Linked DNA regions of Homo sapiens: region 1 is linked to region 2. Evidence: promoter capture Hi-C in 16 types of primary human blood cells and fetal thymus (Javierre and others, 2016). All regions are on one chromosome and are shown on one strand. Each heading gives the region's core, a stretch centred on a gene start or on the middle of the fragment in contact. The rest is flanking DNA. Distances are from core to core; before and after follow the strand shown. Region 1 overlaps ACOX3 (acyl-CoA oxidase 3, pristanoyl). Region 2 holds the start of HTRA3 (HtrA serine peptidase 3).

Region 1 (3,113 bases), core at 340-2,839, 120 kb after region 2:
CCAGCGTCAACAACCTCTGTCCTCAAGACTCTCCCAGAATCCTGGGTCACCACGGCCTTTCCATGTGCCTCACACCAGAAGGACTCTCGAAGGTGCCCCCAGCCGCCCTGTGCACCCAATGACTGCCCCTCGATCTGCCCCCTCCCCAGCTGGGGCTCTGTCCTTGACCCCATGGTGAGCTCTTCGCATGCACTGCCTGCCTTTCGGGTCTCGGTTTCCTCTCCCGTCTCTGGGTCCAGTCCCCTCTGCGTCAGCATCAGAGCACTCCTAACTCGGATTCTGACCCAGGCAAGCCCTGGAAAGCAAGGCCTGGACAGCGGCCCCAACTCCTCAGCCAGATCACAGGCCCGGGTCTGACCATGCCCGCCGCTCTGGTGCTCCTGAATGGCCGGTGCTCCCCAAAAGCACAACGCACGGACCCTCTGAGACACCCTCAGGTGCCAGTTTTGTGGGAGACATTCCCTGACCCACCAAGGCAGACCTCACCTGCATCTGTTGTTTCCAAGGAAGTGTTCAGGACTGTGGCCCCCCACACGCAGCAGCCCCCCACCGAGGGCACCATGGCCTGGCCCCTGCCAGGTGGCATGGGGTGACCGCATTCCCTCCCCACTGTCTCGCAGAAGGAAAACAGGCTCAGAGAGATTAAAGCCTAGCTCAAGGTCACAGCGGGGGGCAGTGCTGACCCAATAGCCTGTGCTCCCACCCTCTGGGAGCACTGTCTGCACCACGAACCCCACTGCTCACCTCATATGACCCCACTGCCCACCTCACATGACCTCACCATGCACTCCACGTGACCTCACCGCTCCCCCACGTGACTCCACCGCTCACCTGTGACCTCACTGCTCACCTCACATGACCTCACTGTGCACTCCACGTGACCTCACCACTCACCCCATGTGACCCCACTGCTCACACATGACCCTATGTCACCTCTGGCCCACATCCCATGACCTTGCAGTCCACAAATACACACGTGTCCGAGTAGTGAACACTGCAACTGCTTACTATGAATGCATACGAGCCAGCTAAACAACAGGGCCCACTGCAGGAAGCAACAGCACAGGCCCCCAAGGCACAGGGCTGTGACACTCAGCTCAGTGCAAAAATGCCTGTGCAAAAATCAGAGGAACTCAACAGAAAACCCAGCCTCCCCTACCCAAGTCAGAATCGAACCCCTGAAGGACCCGCCATTGGCTTGGCAAATCCTCCACCCTTCCTCACAGGCAAGCGCAACCCCGGAAGGGGCCTGTGTCTCTCCAGTCCTGCAGAGCCTGAGGGCCCCACATCACTTAAACAGCTTTTACCAAAGATCCACATGACGCAGGCTGCAGTCAGCCCTGAGACCTGGGATCTGTGACCAAATGCCCTTGAGACGATGGGGCTGGCAGAACCCACAAGCTTCCCTGCGGCGTGAGGGATAATGGCGGTCTCTCTCCCATACCACTTTGAACAAGTGAAAGCCATTTGCCTTTGTTACTCCGGAAAACGTTTTCACTTTGTTGCATCTTGTAAATATTAGAGCAGTTGCAGAAAAGCAGATGACTTTGGTGTCTTTCCTGATGATGGAGAGACTGTAAAATTGCTTTTGCTTTCAGTCTCAGGGGAAGGGGAGGGAAGAGCAGAGCGTGATGGGCACATGGAGAAGCTGGCTGTCCCATTTATGTTTTGATTTTATTAATATAAGGAGTGATGGTTTTAGGAAAAAGGTATTGGTTGGGTTGAAGTTACCACAATGATTAGGTCATTTTCTAGTTCTTTCTGTGGCAACATTTGGGAAGCTTAGAAAGTGACTTGCGGCCGGGCGTGGTGGCTCATGCCTGTGATCCCAGCACTTCGGGAGGCCAAGGTGGGCGGATCACGAGGTCAGGATATCGAGACCATCCTGCCTAACACGGTGAAACTCCGTCTCTACTAAAAATACAAAAAATTAGCCGGGTGTGGTTGTGGGCTCCTGTAGTCCCAGCTACTCCGGAGGCTGAGGCAGGAGAATGGCGAGAACCTGGGAGGTGGAGCTTGCAGTGAGCCGAGATCATACCACTGCACTCCAGCCTGGGCGACAGAGCGAGACTCCGTCTCAAAAAAAAAAAAAAAAAGAAAGTGACTTGCAAACATCAGAAATAGGTCATCAAACGTGTCCCCGTTTCCCACTGGCACCCAAAAAGGCAGGCTAAGATCTGCACGGTTAGTTACCGTCAGAAGCTGTAACCCAGCGCAGTGACCACGAGAAAGCAAGCAGTGATGCAGACGCTTCCTGATGACGATGCTGACGGTGCGGGCAGGGGAAGGCGCTGGGAAGCCGGACCGGCCCAGGCTCCACACCGGCTTCGGCCACGGCTGTTGTCCTGTTCTTTGCCGTGTGAACAAGGAAGTAGCCTGTAGGGCTGGAGACGGACAAGGACACACGCTCGGGGGCTGCTATCACATCCACGGCGTCGGTCCTGATGGCTGGAACGCGTCCTCCATGTGTGCCTGTCCCCTGCATGAGGGAGGCCAGTGCTCCCTCCTCCCGAGGATCCAGGGGCCTCCCAGAACCCCAGGGAAGCCTCACATTCTGGTCTCCTGAATGCAAAGCCAAGAGCATCCTCCATCTCCAAGTCCCCGCTCTATCTGCCCAGTTGAACGTGTGGCACCTCGAGGGCGGTTCCTGTCCAAACTCTGTGGCTGCTGAGCTGAGCACTGATGTGGCGCCAAGTGCTGCACTAAGTGCTTTACGTGCATGAACTCAGTCCACGGTACAAACACCTTATGAAGGGGGTACCATCCCCGTCCCCGTGCTGCAGATGAGGAAACCGAGGCAGGAAGGCTGAGGGACTTGGTGTAGGTTCCACGGCCAGCAGGAGGAGGGACCGGGATCAACCCCGGCAGCCTGGCGGGAGCTGACGTCTCTCTCACTCAGGAAGGTGGGCTACTCTTCCACGTCTCGGGTGTCACGGGAGCAGTCAGTTTCTACCTGGCCCGCCGGGACAGGGCGTCGGGACCCCTCTCGGCCCTTCTCTTCTGCACAAATAGGTGCTTTGGTGGCAAAGTGAAGACATTCACTAAATACTGCTGAGTGAGGCGATGGCGAGATGGAGGCGTTGCTGCGGCTTTGAGCTGTTCTCTGTGATACG
Region 2 (3,281 bases), core at 496-2,995:
AAAGCCAGCTCTGGGCCACAGTAGCCCACCAAGGCTTACTCGAGGGGCAGGCATCCTGGGCACGTGAAAAATTCTCCTTGCGCCTTAGGCAAGCCCACCCTGCAGAGACATGAACCGGGAGCCCTGGCCAAGGTTGAGGGAGGTTCAGCCCAGCCCTGAGGTCCCCAACTCCTAGCATTCTGGGTCATTCCAAAAAATGGCCTGAAATTCTCCACATCTTCAAAGTAAAGTGCACTTGAGGTTTGTAGAGGCAGAAACGCAGGTGCTATTGCCCCTTGTCAAAGGGCCTTTTAGGGGGAGAAGCTCCAGGTCCCTTCTCTCCCCGTCCCCTGGGACCCTTCAACCTTTCACTCTCTCTGGGTCCTATGGGGGCTCACACTTGGCGCCCCGCCTCCTCCCACCTCATCCTCCCCAGACATCTTGTCTGATGGGGCCGCTCCCTACTCAACGCCTCCCCAGGCCTTTGAGGACCCAGGGCCCTCAGGGATCAGGCCCCTCCACCTTCCCATTCCCCGAGGCCCTTTAACCTCCAGCTCCCCCTCCCTCCTCTGGACCAGAGGTACCCCTCCCCATTCTTAACTTGGGTATCTGTGAACCTGGATGGAAAAACGTCTTTATTTACCCCAACAACTCCAACTGAAGTCCAGCATTCATTCCTTTGGGGGTGCAGTTGACCCCAGCCAGCAGGGCCTGTGGCTCCACGGCCAGCAGAAGCAGTGTTTACATCCCCATGTTACCGCCCTCACCGAAGGTGTCTCCAGTGGCAGCCCTCTGCACAGGGCTGCTGCGAAGTGTCCACTGGTATCAGACGACAGACCGACCAGAACCTGCCATTAACATGCTGATAAAGAAGCCCATAGGCCACGCTGTCATGAATTGTTTCATGTATTTTGATAACTGTGTTTTGATAGAATTGTTCCCCTTTGTGACCCCATGGTCTTTGTTTTATGCGTTTAAATCTACTTGACGACATCGTTCTGAAAAGGACACCCAGGCTTCGCCAGGCAGCCCAGGGTACTAGGAACACACACAGTGTGAAGACCGCAGCTCCAGGCTGTGCGCGCGGCGTTATCTCCTGCTGCCCCGACCTGCTTTTGCTTGGGAGCCTCTGCCCAGGTCACGGCCAGCTCCCGCTTCCCATCCTTCCTCTTCAGGCTTGACATTCACCTCCAAGGGGGGTTCTGCCTTCTCTCACAACTCCGCAGCCTTCACCCCATCAGCTGACGCACTGTCACCAGATTCTGACTCTCGTGATGGGACCTGGGTCTGAAGGGGCCCTGCAGAAAATGCAGGAGCAATGATGAGAATGGAAACAGCTTCCGGTTCCGTGGACAGCGAGGACTCGGGAACACTGCTCAGCCATGGCCTCTGTGGTTCTTCCAACGACCCTATGAGGTTGAGAAATGCTGTCAATTCCCCTTTCCTGGAGGAGGAAACTGAGGCACAGAGGAGACTGGACACGGACAGACCCCTCCAGAGCGGGGAGAACGCATCCCCCAACGTTTCTGGGATAGGCTGGGCCCGGGGGTCCCCACCAGAAAGGACCCCTGCGTGTCTGTAGCCTCGGGTTTTCTCGACCAGGCCGACCAGAGTCCCAAGGCCTGCCGGGTGGGTCCAGGCCCGGAAGGCCAGGCGGGGCCCTGTCGGGGCCTGGGCGGGGCTGGCGGAGGGGCCGGGCCGCCCCTTCCAGCGAGGGCGGGCTGGGCGGTCGCCTTTAAAGGCGCGGGACCCGCCGCCCGCGGACCGTCAGGCTGGAGGGAGCTGGTCCCTGCGCTCCCTGCGCCCTGGGGATGCCCCTGCCGCCCTGACGCCCGCCAGCCTGAGCCACCGGCGCATGTGACCGCGCGTCCGCCCCAGTCCCATCCGTAGGCGCCCGGCGCCCGGCCCCGCAGCGGCCTCGTTGTCCCCGCCGGCCCCCGCCCGGTCTCCCGCGCTGCCACCCGCCGCCGGCCCTGCCGCCATGCAGGCGCGAGCGCTGCTCCTGGCCGCGTTGGCCGCGCTGGCGCTGGCCCGGGAGCCCCCTGCGGCGCCGTGTCCCGCGCGCTGCGACGTGTCGCGGTGTCCCAGCCCCCGCTGCCCCGGCGGCTACGTGCCCGACCTCTGCAACTGCTGCCTGGTGTGCGCCGCCAGCGAGGGCGAGCCCTGTGGCGGCCCTCTGGACTCGCCTTGCGGCGAGAGCCTGGAGTGCGTGCGCGGCCTATGCCGCTGCCGCTGGTCGCACGCCGTGTGTGGCACCGACGGGCACACCTATGCCAACGTGTGCGCGCTGCAGGCGGCCAGCCGCCGCGCGCTGCAGCTCTCCGGGACGCCCGTGCGCCAGCTGCAGAAGGGCGCCTGCCCGTTGGGTAAGCGCTCGGGGGCCAGGGAGGAAGTGAAGCTTCTTTCTCTTGGGGAAACTAAGGCCGGGAGTTAGGGCCGAGCTCGAGGTCGCCCTTCCCTGGGCACCACCGGGTGGCCCTTCAGAAATCATCCCACCAGCCCTCTGGTCTTTCAGATGAAGAAACTGAGGCCCGGAAAGGTAAACCGCTGTCCCCAAGGTCACAGAATTAGAGTCAAAAGGGAAACCCGGTGGTCTCCTGGCCACCCGAGGGGCCTCATCTAGGACTGTTTCCAGCTCTGGTCTCTTCAGAACTGATGTCTCGTGCCCATTCCCTTGATCCTTGGACCCCTGCTCTGTCCGGGTATTGAGTGAAGGGCACTCTTTCCTGCCCTAACTCTCCAGCCGGGGTGCCCTCTTGGGTGATGCCTTCTTTCCTGGAGACTGTGGTTAAGTGCATGTCTCCACAGGACTGTGTGGGAAGGGTCAGGGTGCAGGTCCCTGAACTGCTTAGGGCGCCCCAGGGAGAGGCTGCTTGGGGGAGAGAATGTCGGGGTCAGACCCTAGAACAGCCTCCCTTGAGGCAGTCGGCTCTAGGTTGCATCTCACCGTGCAGGTTGACTCTGTACGTGGAGGAAAATGCTGGAAAACCTGCTGTACCTTTTTCCCTGTTTGGGGTGCCTCTTAGGAAAGCAGACTCTGCTGTGGCCGGACAGGGGTTCACTGAAGACAGGCGACGGGCCCCAGGTTCATGGATAGGAGTCAGGGTCCTGCGTGCCATCAGCTTGCAGGTGGCAGGGAGAGATGCAGTAGCTGCCAGAACAGGCTCCGTGGAGCCTCAGGAGCACCATGGGGAGCACCAACTGCCGGGGCTCCTGGGAAGCCTGCAGAGGGCTTCCTCATTTTTTCTGCGGTCCGCTGAACACAATTCCAAGTGTTTTCATGGTGTAAAAAGGTTGGGGAA

Evidence for each region. The method cuts DNA at HindIII sites, captures the fragments that hold promoters and counts their contacts. A CHiCAGO score of 5 or more calls a contact.
Region 1: a contact is called between a fragment that was not itself captured here and the fragment with the promoter of HTRA3 in region 2, in 6 of 17 cell types (endothelial precursors, M0 macrophages, M1 macrophages and 3 more). The highest score is 12.6, in endothelial precursors.

The regions. Positions count from the first base shown.
Region 1 is chr4:8,384,487-8,387,599 of GRCh38, forward strand. All of the region lies in intron 13 of ACOX3 (acyl-CoA oxidase 3, pristanoyl), which reads right to left. Among named protein-coding and RNA genes, the nearest start is that of ACOX3, 55 kb to the right of the region's middle. The HindIII fragment of the contact is 380 bases long and covers 1,400-1,779 here.
Region 2 is chr4:8,268,009-8,271,289 of GRCh38, forward strand. HTRA3 (HtrA serine peptidase 3) reads left to right here and starts at 1,746. Exons shown (of 9, transcript NM_053044.5): 1 at 1,746-2,345. The coding sequence starts at 1,961. It overlaps LOC105374373 (a long non-coding RNA gene), which reads right to left and starts at 2,173. Exons shown (of 2, transcript XR_001741572.2): 1 at 2,099-2,173; 2 at 598-1,388. The HindIII fragment of the contact is 2,501 bases long and covers 1-2,375 here.